Linked DNA regions of Homo sapiens: region 1 is linked to region 2. The links are contacts of gene promoters, found by promoter capture Hi-C in blood cells and fetal thymus (Javierre and others, 2016). All regions are on one chromosome and are shown on one strand. The core of a region is centred on a gene start or on the middle of the fragment in contact, and the rest is flanking DNA. Distances in the headings are between cores, read along the strand shown.

Region 1 (3,997 bases), core at 318-2,817, 120 kb before region 2:
CTCTTCCAGCTCCTAAGAAGGAAGGGGAAAGCACACATAGGATATCATATGAAATCCTCTGCTCTCTTTCAGATTTGCTTGGCTTCACCCTCTGATGTGTTCCACACCACTTCATGCCACTTTTCAAAAAGATGATAAAACGTCAGGCTGAGTAGAACAGAACTGGGTGCAAATAAATCTCTCTGAAGCTAACTTGCCTCTCTCTACCCCTACTTCCCTCTGCACGTGCCTTTGCTTTATTCCCCTGCATGAGAGAAGCAGTCAAATCTTTCCCATTTTCATACCTGGATTGCTGCTCAACAGCCTCAACAACTGAGACCTGAATGTATCCCCATTTTAAAGAACCTAACAGAACATTAAAATTGTTTCCTGAGCCTTCTGATTCCACATATATAAAAGCCATTGCTACAGATATTGATTCATACAGGACCAGACACATCTGTTACAGAGTTTTTCTTTCATACACTCTTCAGTACCAGCTGCAAGGAACGACTATTTTAGGACATCATCTGGAAACATAGACAGTTAACCGTTAAGAAGACCATATTAAAATGATACAATTTATATGTGTATTTCATAAGAAGAATTTTCCAAATCTAACTTTGTACATTCCTCCAAAACCCATCATGTTTCTCAAAACCCTTCTTCTTCTATCTAGTTACTTATTCTTTTTTTTTTTGAGACACAATCTCACTCTGTCGCCCAGGCTGGAGTGCAGTGGCATGATCTCGGCTCACTGCAACCTCCGCCTGCCAGGTTCAAGCAATTCTCCTGCCTCAGCCTCCCGAGTAGCTGGGATTACAGTCATATGCCACCATGCCCAGCTAATTTTTGTATTTTTAGTAGAGACAGGGTTTCTCCATGTTAGCCAGGCTGGTCTCAAACTCCTGACCTCGGGTGAACCACCCGCCTTGGCCTCCCAAAGTGCTGGGATTACAGGCATGAGCCACCGCACCCGGCCTAACTACTTACCCTTTTAAAAAAAAATACTTTATTGTTAAAGTAGGCTGCCTATGTTAAAATAGTACATTTCAATATGTAAAACAGACATTACAAATAGAACTGCAGACAACACACAACCATTTAGGCTGAATAAACTTTCTAATAATCATCTAGGGAGTTGACATTCTCTCTTCAAGAAGGAGGAGAACTTTTAAAGATCTTCAATCATTCATCATTGAACAAGCATTCACTGAACACCTACTAAGCTCAAGGCACTGTACTAGTCTCTGAGGGAAAATGACAGGTAAGACACAGATCCCATCATATTGACTCAATCCAGTGTTTCAGAACACGAGAGCAGGGATATATCCCAAGTGATCTTCCTTGACTTCTCTTCTACACCTAAACATTTCTTTATTCATAAATATGCGTACATATACATGTACATATAATTTATATAAACATAAATGTCTGTGTTGGTAGATAATTCTCCAGGGATCTGGTGTGGGAGTTCAGTCAGGGTGGTGGGAAAAACTGCAGAGGAAAAATTGTAAAGATAGTTATAGGAAATAGTCACAAACCTTCTTAGAAGGCTGGGGGGTGGTGGTGCATAGCTTCAGTAAAAGATTTGGCTGAAAGCAGCCGAATCCTCTTTACCTCGAGTTGATAGCAAAAGAGCAAATAACAAGGGAATGTGGGAGAGTTTACCTAAATAGCTTGTTTACTCATGTGGTCCTAAGAGCAACCTTTGATTATCTGTGGGTGCATGACTGCTCTCCCCTGGGGGGGGTGGGGAGGGGTGGCAATGTTAATTACCTTCTAGTGGTGTTTACTCATGACCCTTGTCATTTAATCTGTACTAAATAAATGTGAACTTCACCGGCTTATCATGGCCTACACTGCAGATTCAGGAGCAGAACCCCTTTAGCCACACTGACAAGCAAAATGTCTGTGTCAGTGTACGTCTCTCATCCATCACTAGGTCAGTGTCTGCGGGTCGGATGCCCACAATCTGGCATTTCTGAATGCCTTCTGAGCAAAGGGCATTAATATCTTTGTTCAAGGACTTTTGCATAACCGACAGCCTTGGAAGCTAGAGTTTATCCCTCCAGGTCAGGGGGCAGATTTGTTTCCTAAGCAATATAAGGTAACATATTCCTTCAGGACAAAGATTGAGCAGGATCACTAGCAGCTCCCTCATAATACCGGAGGGTTCCTAAGCTCACTGCCCCTCAGCTATAACAAAGACCCACTGAGTGCATTGTATGCACCTCAGCCTACCTCTACATCACCCCATTGAACTTGGGGGACAAGGAGAATCAATGTGAACATGAAGCTAATGCTGCCTGCTGTGCATTAAGCAGTAACTGTCCAAATCCATCTGGGTTCACTGTCTCCTTACTGGCTGAATCCATGGAAGTGTGTTAGTGACCAAGGAACTGCAGTTGTCATTGCTGCCTAGGAACTGCTGGGCCACTTGATTATACTTTTTTTTTTAATCATCTTGCTCTTTTTCACTGTTTTATCTGAGAAAGAAGTGTCTTCCTCCCTTCCACAGGAAACTCTATCACTGGTCTTGTGCTTGTTTTTTGTTTTTGTTTGCTTTTTGAGATTGAGTCTCACTCTGTCACCCATGCTAGAGTGCAGCAGGGTGATCATGGCTCACTGCAGTGTTCAGGCTGGTCTCAAACTCTTGACCTCAGGTGATCCACCCGCCTCAGCCTCCCAAAGTGCTGGGATTACAGGTGTAAGCCACCACACCTAGCCTAGGCATAAAATCTTAAAGCTGCCTTCAACTTTTTTTTTTCCCTCCTTCTTTCATACTTAGCATTCAACTGCCAAATCCCACAAGTCCTCCAGAATTTCTCTCCCTTCCACCCTCCTAATTCAGGCCTTTCTCTGGCTTCTGCAATAGTGGTCTCCTCGCCGCCTGCCTCTCCCCACACCAAATTATCCCAATACCACTCTCCCAGAATGAAATGAATTACAAATTCCTCCATGCAACGCCTAGGGCCAGCCTACCACTCTGACTTCCTCTCTCCTCACTTTTTGCTTCAACTACCCATTTTATACCATGTCCTCAGTCTTGGGTGTCCCATCTCTGCCTCTTGCTCCCATTATCTCCAAGAAGGCCCTTAACTTTCTGTCTACTAAAATTTTGTCCAGTTCCACAGTTCCTCCCTAAGTCCCACCTAATGACTTCCATGGTATTTCAAACTTATTTTATGGTATTTTCATGTCCAGAATTATTGTGGTTAAACTAAATTAACATTTTTTCCAGCACTGAAATATCTTGATTTTCTTTTTAAACAACAACCAAAATGGGGGGATACAAAAAACTTTTAAATTGTACAGTCATACAGCTCTTGGAATTGTGCTAGTAGCTTGTAATCACGGATCTCACAGGTGCAGAAATCCCTGGTACCTGTGGTAAATAATGGGCCCAAAGATGTGTACATTCTGTTTCCCAGAAGCTGTGAATACGCTCCCTCACATGGCAAGAGAGCCTCTGCAGACATGATTAAGTTAACGATTTCGAGAGGGGAGTATTATCCTGGATTACCCAGGTGAGCCCTGAATGTAATCACAAGGGTCCCTATAAGGAGGAGACAGAGATTTTACTACAAAAGAAGGCAATGTATCCGCACTGAAGCAAGATGCTATGCTGCAAACTTTGAAGAATCCTTTTCTGATCAAAACCCTGAGACCCACAGTGTTCTCCAACCTGTGCCATATAAACACCTACCGGGTCCTCTCTGGTGCAGGGAACCACAGGAAAGAAACATGTTGGTAGTCCAGGGGGAAAGTCTTGAAAAGCTACTGAGCCAGCCATGTCAGTCCTTACCAATTTTCATTTTTCTCTGTGTTATTTTCTGGTCCTAGTCAGCAAACAGAATAGCAATGGGTGAAACTCCTGACTTTCACCTTAGAAAACTGTGACCGTCATACTAGTTATATGTTCGGAAGAAAACTGCCTTAGTTCTTTTAAGAATTGGAAAGGATTAGCATTCTTCCTAATTGGTCTTGGTAAATCCCCCTGCCCACCCACACATAC
Region 2 (3,618 bases), core at 905-3,404:
ATCTAGGGATCCTTTACTTCCTACTAGTTATCTGGTTACAGGGAGGACTCTCCAACACCTACAAAGCCACTACTTCTTTCTCCCCAGTCTTTTGCAGGGAAGGCTCTTAATCAGTCTAACACTCAGATTTCTGATAGCTCCCTGCTCATAAGACTTCCCTTGGCAATCAGATGAATTTACCCAGTGGAGATTTCAGAAAATCAAGGAAAAGACAGGCCAACTCTTGCATCTGTACTCCAGGACCTATTCAGAAGACTCCAGTGAAGACCTAGCTTCCCTGGGGTTTGCATTAGTCTCAGCACCTTGAGCATGCCATTCCTAGTTCACCTCCAAGTATAAAGCATTAGTAGCAAAGACCCATTATTCTTTCCACCAGGGTAAAGAAGGCTTAGAGTGAAATGAATATAAATGGAAATCTAATACTGTAAATAAATAATGACTGATTGGGCAGCTGGGTCAGAGGCATCCAGCCTAAACAGATAAAATTCATCTCAAGGATGAGGACAGTAAAGATTCAAACTCCAGAGGGAGGTAATGGGACAAAAGGAGTTGCAGGCGTAGAAAAAAAAAGAAGCACCCTCAAAATATTCTCTGGGTTATCAGATGGCACAGGAGGGGCGTGGCAAATAAACTAAAATCCATGGTTCTTCACCCATTCTTTCATATTTTCTAACACGGCGGGAATACACTTTTCTAATTTCGTTTCGCCCAATTTAAGGAAAAGATAAGCAAGGATAAAAATTCCTCATATATAGCACAATTAAAAGGGAGCTGGGATTCTCTAACTTATTACCTTAATCGGCTACACAAAGATGAAGCTACATTTCAATCGACACCATGCGCTGGCACGGGAGTAACTCACTTAAAACACCACAATCCAAGGTCAATTTTTCTCAACTCCATTTATGACTGCGTAAAGATTTTATTAAATCTTTTTTCCTATTTCACACATCAATTCCTAGGGTCCACACAAACTCTTCCATCTTCTCCAAACTGGTATTTGGATTAAACATTATCCAAGATCAGTCTTTAAAGTAAATTTCATAATTTCATATAAAAGTGTGCACCACATTAACACTCAAATGTGTGTACAATTAAAAATATACAGACCAGCAACAGCGACTCTTAAATGAATTTAGACTCAAAGTGTTTTCACAGAGGTTTTTCTGCCGTCTTGGAGGGGTAGGAAACTGCTGGCATTACGAATCCCATTTCATGGCTGGGTAAACCGAGGCACTTAGGGGTTACAGAGGTAAAGATGGAAATAGAAACCAATTTCTCCCTCCGACTCTACGCCTGGTCCCTTCCCACTAGACTTTTCAGCACTCAGTGGCTAAAAATGGGACCCACTTGAGAACTGCAAGGGTAAATAAGAGCTACTTGTTTCAGAAGGTGGCGGCGGGGGAGGGGGACTTACCCACTTGATGCGCCCGATTGTGTGTGGGCTCTAACAAGAAAGCTCTCCCTGGATGCCCAAAGGTTTGCACCCACCCGCTTTAAGCTCAGACCCGAGAGGCACCGCCAGGCAGACAGGGCAGCCGGAATCGTGCAGCCCGAGAAACGCGAGAGGAATGCGGGGCGCCCGGGCGGCGCGGGGGCCGCGGGCCCCGGGACACCATTTGCTCCCGGAGCGACGCCGTGGCCCGCCGGGCGGGGACGATGCTGAGCCTTCCGCACACACCTGCCGGAGCCCGCCCGGGAGCCCCGGGCCGCCTCCCGCGCGCCGGACGCCCACCCAGCCTCCAGGCGCAGGAGCTCTCGGCCGCGCTAGGCCAGGGGCGGGAAGCCGCGGCACCCCTCTCCGCGGGCTGCGCTTGGCGGCTGGCGCGGGGGAGCCGCGGGGCGAGGCAAGCCCGCCTTCCTCCCCAACCCCCCCTCCAAACGGCGTCACCTGTGCCGGGTCCCGGGGCGAGTCGCGCGCGGGCGGCGGCTGCGCCGAGCCGGGAGAGGGCGGCGGGTGTCTACAGGAGTCTGCTCATCCGGGCCGGCCCGAGGGCTGGCGCTGGCCAGTGCCGCCCGGTGAGATGCTCACGGGAGCCAGGGAAGCCGCGGGTTCCGGGCCGCTTGGAGGTGCAGTCGCGGAGGCTCCAGCTACCGCGGCGGCCGTCGCGCCCGCCCGGACTGCGGGCTCGGGTTACCGCAGAGCTGCTCCTTAAAGGGGCCGCGGCCGCTCGGGCTCCGGCTCCCGCTCCGGGCGGCTCCGACCCTGGCCAAAGTGGGCGGGGCCCCGAGGCGGGCCGCCGAGCAGACCTTCTTGCCCTGGAACTTGGGTCCCGGAAAGAGCCCAAAAACCCTAACACCCGAAGTCGCAGCGGAGAGATCCTGGAAGCTCACACCTTGCCAAGGGCAGAGGGTGCAATTCCCGGGTTTTCCAAAGCAAGTCACAAAACTTGCCAGCGGGGGAACTGTGTGAGCCCGCCCCCGCAGCGGTCAGTACCTGGGCTAGCCACGTAACAAAAAATCTTCTTAAATTATGAATTTACATTCTGCCTTAAATGCTCAAATACTGGGGACTTCATGGTTAGATCATCAGAAAAGAGATGAAAAGGCAACTGCTGGTTTTTCTTGCCACGTCTGACACGGCCACACTCGAGTCCCGCCAGTTCTTCTTTGGGGCTGCAGGTGCATACCAAACTGGTAGGGGGCGCGTGTAGAAGAAGCGTGTTCTCTCCAGCACCACCTCCAGAATTCCTGAAAAACACCCTCATGGGTGCACCAGCACTACACCTACACCCGGAACCCCTCTGTTGTCGGGGTGTGGAAGTTGGATTTGAATATTTGGTGCTGGCTGAGAATTCCAAGTTGCCTAGTAGATAAAGTTTGACATTAAATAGATGTTCTGACCTGTTATATACAGCCCCAAAAGCCTCCAAGTGATCTGCATCAACCAGAGATAATTGTCTGAAACAAAACAAAATAACAAAGAGGTATACTCATGCATTATAATTCGCAGAGAGCAATCACAAGGCCTTTTCTTGAAAAGAGGTAAGTTCTAAATAAATAATTTGTAAACACTATCATTGATAACAGGATATTTATTTCTAAGAAATGTCAATAGAGCTAACATATTTGATCTACTATATACATGCGCAGAAAGACACACATATCTGCCGCAGATTTAGACCAGAAAATATATACACAAAAGCTCATATAAGCTGTCCATGTTTATTTTCAAGAGAGGGCAATAGAATTTAAATCAGAACCTGGAATTCTGTCAGTTTATTAGAGTTGTGTGCCTTTAGCTAACTGAACCTCACTGAGGCTCAATTTCTTCATCTTTAAAATGGTAATAATAATTCATAGTGACTCTGAAGACCTGGACTGATGTGGAAAAGACAAAATCTATACCACAGAACAGGGAGGGACAGAAACCTGCCCTGCAGTCAAGCAGAGAGAAAGATCTTTCAGGCCCCCAAATGCGTGTTCCCCTTTTTCTCCCCAAGACTCTCAGGATGTACCAGGGCTCCAGTGCTCTTTGAACCACACGGTGTCCCATCATAGTCCCTTCACAATATGTGCAGTACCTGACAACTTTGGTTTGCGCAATAGCTACCTTGTGCACTCACATAGCTATTTCATAACTCTCTGTGGGCAGGATGGTTATATGTGAACATCTGT

Evidence for each region. The method cuts DNA at HindIII sites, captures the fragments that hold promoters and counts their contacts. A CHiCAGO score of 5 or more calls a contact.
Region 1: a contact is called between a fragment that was not itself captured here and the fragment with the promoter of TLCD4 in region 2, in 1 of 17 cell types (total B cells). The highest score is 6.4, in total B cells.

What each region holds. Positions count from the first base shown.
Region 1 is chr1:95,239,601-95,243,597 of GRCh38, reverse strand. All of the region lies in intron 7 of TLCD4-RWDD3 (TLCD4-RWDD3 readthrough), which reads right to left. All of the region lies in intron 1 of RWDD3 (RWD domain containing 3), which reads right to left. Among named protein-coding and RNA genes, the nearest start is that of RWDD3, 7.4 kb to the right of the region's middle. The HindIII fragment of the contact is 5,719 bases long and covers 1-3,997 here.
Region 2 is chr1:95,115,891-95,119,508 of GRCh38, reverse strand. TLCD4 (TLC domain containing 4) reads right to left here and starts at 2,154. Exons shown (of 7, transcript NM_152487.3): 1 at 1,892-2,154. It overlaps TLCD4-RWDD3 (TLCD4-RWDD3 readthrough), which reads right to left and starts at 1,586. Exons shown (of 8, transcript NM_001199691.1): 1 at 1,418-1,586. RefSeq lists silencers at 1,664-1,713, 1,794-2,073, 2,001-2,147 and a cis regulatory region at 3,402-3,618. The HindIII fragment of the contact is 12,433 bases long and covers 1-3,618 here.